Regions from separate parts of the Homo sapiens genome. Here region 1 is linked to region 2. The links are contacts of gene promoters, found by promoter capture Hi-C in human tissues and cell types (Jung and others, 2019). All regions are on one chromosome and are shown on one strand. Each heading gives the region's core, a stretch centred on a gene start or on the middle of the fragment in contact. The rest is flanking DNA. Distances are from core to core; before and after follow the strand shown. Region 1 overlaps SLC25A28 (solute carrier family 25 member 28). Region 2 holds the start of NKX2-3 (NK2 homeobox 3).

Evidence for each region. Contacts are between HindIII fragments. The study calls those that stand out against the background at their distance.
Region 1: a contact is called between a fragment that was not itself captured here and the fragment with the promoter of NKX2-3 in region 2, in 3 of the 25 tissues and cell types used here (H1 embryonic stem cells, bladder and neural progenitor cells).

Annotation. Positions count from the first base shown.
Region 1 is chr10:99,612,874-99,618,488 of GRCh38, forward strand. It overlaps SLC25A28 (solute carrier family 25 member 28), which reads right to left. Exons shown (of 4, transcript NM_031212.4): 2 at 823-1,051. Among named protein-coding and RNA genes, the nearest start is that of SLC25A28, 4.8 kb to the right of the region's middle. The HindIII fragment of the contact is 3,914 bases long and covers 1,457-5,370 here.
Region 2 is chr10:99,529,822-99,535,041 of GRCh38, forward strand. NKX2-3 (NK2 homeobox 3) reads left to right here and starts at 3,121. Exons shown (of 2, transcript NM_145285.3): 1 at 3,121-3,668; 2 at 5,164-5,220. The coding sequence starts at 3,311. It overlaps LINC01475 (long intergenic non-protein coding RNA 1475), which reads right to left and starts at 1,356. Exons shown (of 5, transcript NR_120618.1): 1 at 1,191-1,356. RefSeq lists an enhancer at 2,451-3,342. The HindIII fragment of the contact is 5,212 bases long and covers 439-5,220 here.

The DNA of each region.
Region 1 (5,615 bases), core at 2,164-4,663, 83 kb after region 2:
TGCAGCTCACACCCCAGACAGGAAGCAGATACACTGCTGCCTAGGGATGCCAGCACATCACCTGCCACCAGTGGAGGGAGATACGGGGGCCAGGTGGTCAGATCTCACAGAACCTCACCACAGAATCCCACCTCAGTCCTGCCGCAGAACCCATTTGCAGAGCCTAACATTTGTCTACAAAGATCTTTCGTTCAGGTCCTGAACTACTCTACCCCTCATCCTCTCCACACTCAACTTGGTTTCCAGCCGGTCCTAAAGCCCTAGGCTGCTATCCTTTCTCTTACTTCCACACAACCTTCTGGTTTCTTCATGCAGTTCCTTGGCCCCACCCCCATTCATTTTGTCATGAGGCTTTGTCATGTTCTCAACACAAACTGCCTCTGGTGAGTTGGGATCCTGAAAAGGTGAGGCAAAAAGCAGGGGCTTCATTAGTATCTTCCTTGGGTGGCTGGCTGGGTCGCCTCCAATCCTGCCCTAAGGAGCAGGACACCACCCAACTGTCAAACATAGACTGGGGGTAGTTCAGTGTGTCTCCACATTACCAGGGCATTAGAAGTTGATGCCAGGGAGATGAGAGGAACAAGTCAAGCTGGTAGGTAAGGGAGGATACTGTAACCCTTTGTTGAGGTGCCCCAAAGGAAAAGGCAGGGTTGAAGCGGCCCGTTGTCTGAGAACATCAGGTTTGGAAGTCCCTCCCTTATAATCTGGCCTATCCCAGCCCAAAGCTTCAGCTCCAAACCATGCTGAGACTGGAAAGCACTGACAGCAGCAAAGCCCAAAGAGTTGGGAAAGTGGGGGAACCAGCACAGGAAGGCTCAATACCATTGGCAATATGGCTATTGCCCCCAGGGTGGATTACATCACTCAATGTCTTTTTTAACTTTTCGTAGCAGGCAAAATAAAGGGCGTGGGCAGGCCCTGCGCCTGTTGCTGTGACGTTCAGCCCCCTCATGGGCCTCCATAGGCCCTCCGTTCTTATAATCCTCCAGAGGGCCTCCAACACATTGCGATAGCGGGCAGCTGGGTCAGGCTGTAGACTCTGCATCCGGGTCTGAAATTACAGCAAGGAGAAGCGCAATGTCAGCAATGCCAACTTCTCGCCCCACCTCAACACACTGGGCAGACCTTCTACATGGAGCTGTGCCAATCTGTGAGAGGGATATCTGGCTTTCAGCTTATTTCCAATCTATAGCTGATCTTTCTTCTAAGCCTTGGACCTTTCTTTTTCTAGTCATCTATGACCCTAAGAATGGAACACCATTATTTTCCCTGAAAAAATAATCCCACCTATTGCTAAGTGTCCTGGTACTCCAAAATGATTCAGAGCCCCAGCAACAAATATCAAGCCTGTGTTTCAGAAGTTGCTTTTGTGCCTTAATACACTCAAGCTGACAGTTCTTTACAAATGGATTCTAAACTCCAGTATTTACTATCTATGACATACTTTATGCTGTATACCTAAAGAGTGCCCCTGGCCCTGCTTCATGACCACACACTGAGGGGCGGCTAATTTTTTTATACTTTTTCAGACTATCTGGCAATGGTGGCTGGGTCTACACAGAGTCTTGGCAGAAGCAGCATTCTTAATACATGCTTTTATTTCTTGGGAAAGAAAGTTTACCCTGAAACTGCAAAGGTGGGAGTGTCTAGCTAGAAACCAATCTAGTCTCCAATCCTGAAGGGCCCTTCCAGATTTCTAATTTAAACTGATTGAATCCCAAAATTGGCATTAGCAAATAAAATCAGTCTCAGTGAAACATAATCCTTGGAATCTCTCTAAAGGATTTGATGATTGGAATAAAAGCGTAGGGTAGACACTTTGTATGATGTTCTTGGACAAAGTTTTGTTGAAATTTGGGAAATTAATCTTATTCAAAACACCTCCCTAAATTAGACCTTTTCTGAAGAGTGTGTCTCCCCAGGAAAATTTCTCATCTACTGACCCAATTCAAGGTAAAGTAACATGGAAACTAATAGTTAATATAAAATCAATGTCTAAAAAGAAAAATCAATGTCTGGTGCCTGACACACAATAAGCACCTCTGATTTGTTTGCTAAATGAATGAATCTTTTGTCACATAACTGTATCAGCTACAATCACTGGTGAGCCAATGGAAGCAAGTGATGCCCAAGTACAGTTTAAATTTCTGCATCAATCTAATCACTAGATTCTATTTGGATTTAAAAGCTTGAACCTTCGGCCAGGCACGGTGGCTCACGTCTGTAATCCCAGCACTTTGAGAGGCCAAGGCGAGCAGATCACCTGAGGTCAGGAGTTCGAGACCAGCCTAGCCAACATGGTGAAACCCCGTCTCTATTAAAAATACAAAAAAATTAGCCGGGCATGGTGGTGTGCACCTGTAATCCCAGCTACTCAGGAGGCAGGAGAATCGCTTGAACCTGTGAGGCGGAGGTTGTAGTGAGCCTTCGCTGGTTTGAGCCACTGCACGGCAGCCTGGGCAACAAGAGCAAAACTCCATCTCAAAAAAAAAAAAAAAAAAAGCTTGAACCTTCCTCTTGGCCAACTGGAATCCAAGAGTAATACCTTTCCTCAAGAGCATGGGAGAAAAGAAACTAACCAGATGAACAGGTCCCGGTTAGCTGCAAGCAATCCACATTCCTCTGGTTATTTTCTCCTGCCTGCTACCAACAAAAAACCGGAAGCTTAAAAGGTTAGTTACTGGATGTTCAATCAGAAATACTCTACACAGTATCACTTATCACAATTTGACACATTCTTTCCTACTTCCCCCCACAAAACCTCATGTATTTCCAATAAAGGGTTTGTTTACTCATCTTTCACATCACACAAGGCATATAAAATCCATCAGAAGAGTTGTTCATAGAGACTACGGGTCATATGCTGGCTAGAGCTACTAATAAGCAAAGATAAATTGAGCCTCTTAGCTTATCGTGTTTCCATGCATTTATTCAAAACTGATCTTGTATAAGGGGAATGTTCAGCAATTGCATTGCTCTGCTGCAGTCAATGGTGTATTTGGCTACCAATTCTGAACGGTTTGGCTTCGGAGGCCTGGAACTCCTCACCCCCAAGAGAAAACCGGACTGTGGGAAGCTACTTTGAACATTCTATATACACATCTAAATCTAACTCAACAATTCTAACTCGATAAAAGTACACCCTTATGGAGAGGACCTGGGCATAAGCTATGCCAAATATAAAAATGAATATGGCTCCCCAAATTTGTGGGCCAATAAATCTGCCTTTTACAGAAAGATGAAATATCTAAGTAAGAATTTCTGAAAAACCTCAATGTGAAAAACTTCTACCTGGCTTTGGAGAAAAGCCAAACAACCCAGTAGAGAGGTAAGTGGTTTGGTAAAAGACAAGCCACATTTGAGTCAAAAAGCCTGAGTCTGAGCCTCAGCTTTGCTAGTTGTGTGATCTTGGGTATGTCACTTAACCTCTTTAAGCTTCAAAATTGTCATCTATAACATGAGGCCAAGAATGACTGGCTCACAGGGCTGTTGTGGGGATTAAAAGAGATAAGATATGTAAAAGCCATTGGTAATTTATAAGATGCTAGAAATACAAAGATTTTTATTGTATTCAAAATGATTCTATATTTGTTCATATCTAAGAATTTACAGATCATGGTAGCATTGCCTCCTGTATAAGTCATTTCACAAATATACATGGGCAACTAACTGTCCTTAGCCACCAATAAATCAGGGTTAATTTTGTATTTTTTGTTTTCCTTTTAAAGTTTCTCTGTGGCTATAATGATTTACATGTCCCACTATTAATCTGAAGGTCATATGTTCAGGGACAAGCTTTACTGTGAAATTCTGTGCCTTGCCTGGTTCTTGTAATCTGCTTTTGGGAAGCTATATGGAAGGCTTGAGAGTCTGATACACTGAGTTCAAATCATAACTGTGCTACTTAAACTGTGTGACCTTGGACAAGTTATATAACTTCCCTAAGCCTCCTTTCAACTGTAAAATAATGAAAATGGTTTCTACTTCATGAAGTTGCTTCACAGATTAAATGAATAAATGTATGTAAGGTACTTCAGATAGTGCTTGGCACACAAGATCACTGAATACTTATTACTAGATGCAAGAAAATCAAATAAGCTAATGTTTCCATTTCCTAATCTTTCACAGGTGAATATGTATAGATACCATTTACATCTGGAAATTGGAGATTTATCTCCCTCTGCTCTTCCCCTCTTTATTATATAAGTGGATATTTGCTTTACCACTTCAGAGCCAACAACAGCAGCTTGATGATAGGTGGGTACTTCGCCAGAGGATTTTGAGAAGGGTTCTGACTGTTTTGGGTTGCAGAATGTCCCCATAGATAAAGTCTGGCGCTTGCCTTTGAGGCCCAGAAAAGGAAACTGGGATTTATCTGGGCTCCCAAGCCTCTCCATTATAGCCATGGAAATAGCTGGTTGAATAACCATGATCCAGCAAGGCTACACTGACTTCTCATGGTCCCTCTCAAGGATATTTAAAGTCAACTTGACCCTGATAAGTAGCTGAGGATGGACAGGCCTGCATGTCAAAAGGCAATGTCAGCTTTCATTTGCAAACATTGTGGTTGCCCTTTAGGCTCCAACAACATGGATATCTGCCTCCAGTCTTAAAGACTGGGCTGCTTTTCCTCCCCACTCATCCACTTATTAAAAGAAGAAGGATAGCTGCTGGGGACAAGCAAACTGGGAAGTCTTTTCTGAAGGAAGAGATTTGAATTTTACTTTCATGCCTGCACAAAAGTGTTTAACATACTCACTGACACTAAATCATACTGGCCTCACCTAGTTCTTCCCTCTAAGTCATTTAAATCCCAGCATTAAGTGCAAGTGAAAATGAGCCTTCTAAAATAAGCTTTCGTATTGTTGACAACTCCTGAGCATTTTTTTCTCAAATCATTATTTCCTTAATAGAGGGCTTTCAGGCATAACTGCTATGTTGTATGACTAATTTTTAAAAAACAAAAATTCCAAAGTTTATGTAAATGAGTAAGAACTGTTCTTCAAAATAGTTACCTTGGAAGGCTACAATTGACTTATTCCAGCAAAGCTGTGGTTATGCAAAACCTTTCTGGAACTTCTCTTTCAGAGGTGTTTCCTCAACGGGTTTATAGGCCTCAGAAGTAAAGCAGTCTCCTTGCTTTCCAGTCCCACCTTATTTTGATGCCAAGCAGTATTACCCATTTTGACCTCCCACTTTATTCACCATATTTGATTCTGAATAGTCTTTGTTCTTGCAAAATCAATTCCATCTTGTCACAGGGCAAAGATTTGCCTCCCTTAAGGACATGCACCCAAATATTCTAGAAGCATTTTTAACAGGGATTTATAAAATGTTTATAGCAACAATAGCACTATGTAAATATATGGAGTAAGGAGATAACCTCCCGTTCTGTTATAATGGAACAGTGGTTAAATTGATAAGTTACAGTAATATTTCTAAGACAAATTATTACACTGTATTTTTCAAGCCATTACATAATTTTCACTGTTTTCATTGATCTGTTTTCCATTCAATACTCATCCAGAAAAACAGCATCCTAAACCCTGCACTCTACTCACAGTCTAAGTCTAGGGAGGTTACTCTGCAGCTAGATTATATTAACTTTTGGATAT
Region 2 (5,220 bases), core at 1,871-4,370:
TATTATTAGTAGAGCACAGCTCGAGGATTTCAAAGATCTACTTTTCAGACAAGAGAATGCAAATGCCCCAGAAGGCGATGGTAACTGGATAGGCGTTGGAACCAGATCCCACTCTGATAAGAGACTCCTGCGGAGCGACTGCTGCTGTACAACTACGGCTCTCGAGTTCTCCTCCTTTCAGGCCCGCGGCCGTCGAGGGTACAGGCTGCGCGCGCGGGAAAAGGAGGCCACCTAGATGAGATTGGCCTGGCGGGGATCCCTGCGGGGAAGCACGCCACTGGGGAACCAGACCAAGGGAGTCTGAACAATACTGAGGGGGTAGCTGGAGACAACCCAAACTCCTGCTCTGGGCATAAAACTCAGATCAACCTTAGGGATGCGGTAGCGGATAGAGGTTTTCCGCAGGCTGGAACAGCACTACACTGGGCTGGGTATGAGGAAAGGAAGCGGCGATAAGGTCTAGGCGCCGCCCGCTAGGCCCCTTCGCCTGGAAGTCCTCACAGGCCCTGGTGGCCTACTGAGGAGCAACCTGCCCAGGGTCCTCAAGAGACAACCGCTTAGGCCTGGCGCAAGGTACCTGGCCCGGGAGCGGCTGGGGCGGCGGAATTTGGGGTAGAGGGGCACCCGTGGGCCGGCTGGTGGGGAGGAGACAGCCCCCTGCATGAGCTCACAGAGGCGCCCTGGTGGGCTCCGGCGGCTGCAGAGCGTCTGTGGGCGTGTATTGGCGATCAGGCGCTGGAGGGGCGCTTTGTCCTGGTCGCAGTTTTAAGACCTGGATTGTTGGGCTAGATTTATGAAAGGCCTAGGAGCGAAGCGAGATGGGAAGCAAGGGAATGTAACAAGGAGAAATGCAGGCTTCGGTTGGAAACTGGGGAGAGAGAGATTGTTTCGATAGCCTTTCTCCTTTTCTTTTTCCAGAATCATGAAATCACCGAGGAGAAGAAAACTGGGGACTAGAAGAGAGCAGAAACATTTCCCCTGAGACAGTTTTGCCCCGGAGGTGGGGTGGGGAAGTGGCGCTGGAGCTCAGCTTCCTGCTTTTATGCTCGGCGGCCACCGTGATGCACACACACTCGAGGTCCGCCACCCCGCAGTGCCGTGCACCCCTCTGCCCCCACCTCGGAATTTTTGTGCCCGAGCGCTCGGGATCCACGGCAAAACCAGGCACATTCCTCCCTCTGCAGACTCACCGCCTGGTTTGTAGACACTGGTCTCCGCCTGGGGCGTCAATAGTTTCAGGATTTAAAGCAGAAAGACACCGGGCGCCCCTGTGGCTGAGGAATGGCGGTTCCAGCACAAGACCCTGCCCACAGAGGGTCTCTCCCTACTGCCTGCGGGCCGCCGCTACCCTAAGTACTCCGGGGCGCACGTGGCCCGCGCGGCATCCCAGCTCCCCGGGCGGACCCAGGGGCTGCCTCTCCACAACAGTTCCGCTCCCTTCTGCAGAGCCCCGCCTCTCCCACCTCCCGACAGGCTGTTCTTTCTCCCTTCAACCTTGGGCACCCACTCCTGTCGCCGTTGCGGGACCCGCGTGGCAGCCCTCCACCCTCGTACCCACTCCCAGCCGGTGTCTTATGCCGCTCGGAGGCAATGTCCACCGTCCCTGCACCTTTCACCTGCCCCTTCCAGGTGAGACGGGTCTCTTTCAGCTCCGCCATCCTGACCGCCAAAAAATGCTTGGATTGGCTGGGGCCGGATGAGGACAGCCACGGTTGAGCTGGAACCGTTCCCTATTTTTTTAAGGCCAGCGCTGCACACGGGTCTTTCTGTGGCCCTCAAAGCAGCGCCCGCTGCTCCTCACTGGGCTAGGCCTGGTAGCGAGCAAATGCCTATTGTGGGAGAAGATGGTCCCAGAGTTTCCAGCTCAGAGTTTCCAGAATCTGTGGGGGACTGTATAGACTCCCCCAGAAAACAACCAGGGCCTCATGAAGGTGCCAGAAGGCGTGTAGGTAGAGAAATTTTAAAAGCCTGTCGGAGAGGCAAGGCCTACATTCAGGCTCCTGATTTCAATAGGTGGAAAAGAAGGCTGCCAAGGCTGGGTCACCTCCCTTGTGAGGACAGATCCTGCTCTCAGTATGTGCCACACTCCAGCCACGCACCACCAATGCAGTCAACAAACACTGCTTGACCTCCCATACAGAAAAGCAGTCGTTGACACGTACTGAGCGCTTAACACGCGTGAGGCCGTGCACTAAGATTCTGGCATGTTTTGCCTCATTCAACCCTAGCAACAACCAAAAAAGGTATTACTGCCTTCGTTTTATAGACGAGAAAACAGACTTAGAAACGCCGAAGATCACACACTGACTAGGCCAAGCAAGAGCTGTCGAATACCAAAGTTTAGTCATAACTCTATCTTCCTTTCACATACTGCTCTGTGCGGCTGCTGCCAGGGATACAAGGGCAAAAGCAACCCCGGGACACTGCCCTCATGGAGCTTACAGTCTAACTGGGGCGACCAGGCAGGCACATACAGCTATAGAATTAAGTGGGAAGTGATAAGTGACATGCATGTCCTTTGCTAACACAAGCTGCAGGTTCAGAGCCTGAAAGAGGGGACTTCCGGCTAGACGATCTAGGAGCTCTTCCTTGGAGAACAGTTTCCACTCGTGGAGGCTAAGTGTCAGAAACATGTTCCAAGTGGAGAGAAAGCTTGAGCAAAGGCAACAAGTTGAAAAAGGACATGTCGCCCACCCATAGATAGATAAAACACTGCATCTCCTCGTGGATCCAGCGCCCAGTATTTACCCGCCAGGAAGTTTTCCTGCCCCGCGCAGCAGCTGAAAAAAACACACTCCTGGGGCATCCTTCCCTGGCGTTGGTTCGTGGACAGCAAGCCTCCCAGAACTGGCCTAGGTCGGGAAGGTGCAGCCACGCGGGAATCAATGGTTCAGGAACCGGATCTGTGCAGCCTCGCCCGCAGCGTCTCGGACTTCAGGACTCTATACTAGTCCTTGTCTATTTCTGGTAGAGCCGCAACATCCCACTCGCAGAGAGCAGGGGGCGTGGCCCACATGAGCCAGAACCTATAGGGAGGGAGGTTGGGGCGCCAGCCCCGCCCCCCCAACGTGACGCAAATCTCCCGGACAGAGGCTTAGGAGCCCGGGCCCCAGTCCCTGCAGTGGCTGTAACAAAACCCAGACCCCCAGGTCCCGGCCAATGGAGGCGATTTAGACTGGAGTGGGACCGCGTCTGTCAAAAGCCCGACTCGGCAGCAGCGGCGGAGTCCAGGAGGAGAGCTGGAGCCGCCGCGCTGCCTCCCCGCCCCCGCCGGGATTTATTATTTGGACTGGACAATTAAGTGGCCCTGATGATGTTACCAAGCCCGGTCACCTCCACCCCTTTCTCAGTCAAAGACATTTTGAATCTGGAGCAGCAGCACCAGCACTTCCATGGTGCGCACTTGCAGGCGGACTTGGAGCACCACTTCCACTCTGCGCCCTGCATGCTGGCCGCCGCTGAGGGGACGCAATTTTCTGACGGAGGGGAGGAGGACGAGGAAGACGAGGGCGAGAAATTGTCCTATTTGAACTCACTAGCCGCAGCAGACGGCCACGGGGATTCAGGGCTGTGTCCCCAGGGCTATGTCCACACGGTCCTGCGAGACTCGTGCAGCGAGCCCAAGGAACATGAAGAGGAGCCCGAGGTCGTGAGGGACCGGAGCCAAAGTGAGTAGAGGGGGAAAGAAAACGCACCCGCACACCTGGAGCAATGGCAGAGCGCACACAAACAGCCCACAGACCTTGCCAGCGCAGCTGCCCATCCCTTTACCCTTTGGCTGGGGCCATGCCTCCGCCCTGGTCACCGACAGCTCCACAAAGCGCAGGTACCTGCAAGGGAGCCGGGGTGGAGAGACAAGGACGAGGTGACCCTGACAACTACTCCCCCCAAAAGGGGGAAATGAGGGAAGGGAAGGTGGTTACTGCTGCCCTGATGCTGAGAGGCGACGTGGGCTCAGCGCCTGGGTCCTCATAACTGGCAGTATTTTTGCTCTTCCCCCCGCCCCAAAAGGCTCTTCCCCCAAAAAGGGCAGGAGCCTGGACCTTTTTCGTTTTCCCTCTAGGGTGAGATGAGTTCTCTTAGCCCAGGGCAGCCACCCCTTCTTCTCCGAAAAGACAGCCCAAGCAGCCTGTGTCTCTCGCACCCGCAGGGGCAGGAACTTTGGTGGAGGCCAGCTGGGCGGTTTCCTCCCTTCTCTGCTTGGAGCTCAGCGTCCTTGAACCCGTGGCACTCGGTAGAGAGAGAGGAGATGATCGGAAAGTGCGTGGGAACAATGTCTATTCCGCGCGACCATAGCTCTCACATCCCTAAGGCGCCAGCCTTTTTTGAAAATCCGTAACGTTTTGCTTTGTGTCCCAGGCTGCGGGCCTAATAGAAAACGCGCCGAACTTGAGTCCGAGATCTTGGCTGCTCACATCGGATGGGAAGTGAATTGATAGGGAGATGGGATAATCAAATAAAGTCCCCAAGGAAGTGTATTTAAGAGGACAGAATCACAGTCTTTCCCCAAGAGGCGGTTTGATGTGGCAGAGGCCAAGGCCTATGCTCTCATAGTTCCCAGAGCCGAAAATCGGCATGAAACTGTCTATAACTAGTCAATCAAACTTCATTTTCAAAGTGCACACAGATGTCGTCATAACATTCGCTTGTAGTCTTTTATAAGCCACACACACACACAAGTCCCTGAGCCATGCACAAGCGTTACACTCAGAACAGATTTTCGCGCAACCCATGCCCACCGGCCCACTCATACCAACACGCCTCACACCTTCAGTTATCCTTGGTGGAGTAGAATGCAAACGAGTTTGCAAATACTGTAGTTATTATGTAGTTGCAAGCCTTCATCCTGAAAATAGTCATTAGCACGTCGAGCCGCATATTTAATACAGAGTAATCTCTTCTCTCGCAGATGCTCAAGATCCAAATAAACACGCACTAACTACCCCTCTCCACGAAACGCGCCTCCGCCTGCTAAGGGCGTTCTTTGGGTACTGGGGCTGTCTCAGGGTCCCACAGCGCCAGGAGCCACAAACGTTCCCAAAAGTCCAGCCATTTACTACCGCACGCTCTGCGCAGCCACCAAAAAGGGTCACGGTGCTCCAGGACAGGAGCCGCGGTGCGGCCGGGAACAGCTAAGGACGCTGTTGTTTGCTTCTTCCGCAGAAAGCTGCCAGCTGAAGAAGTCTCTAGAGACGGCCGGAGACTGCAAGGCGGCGGAGG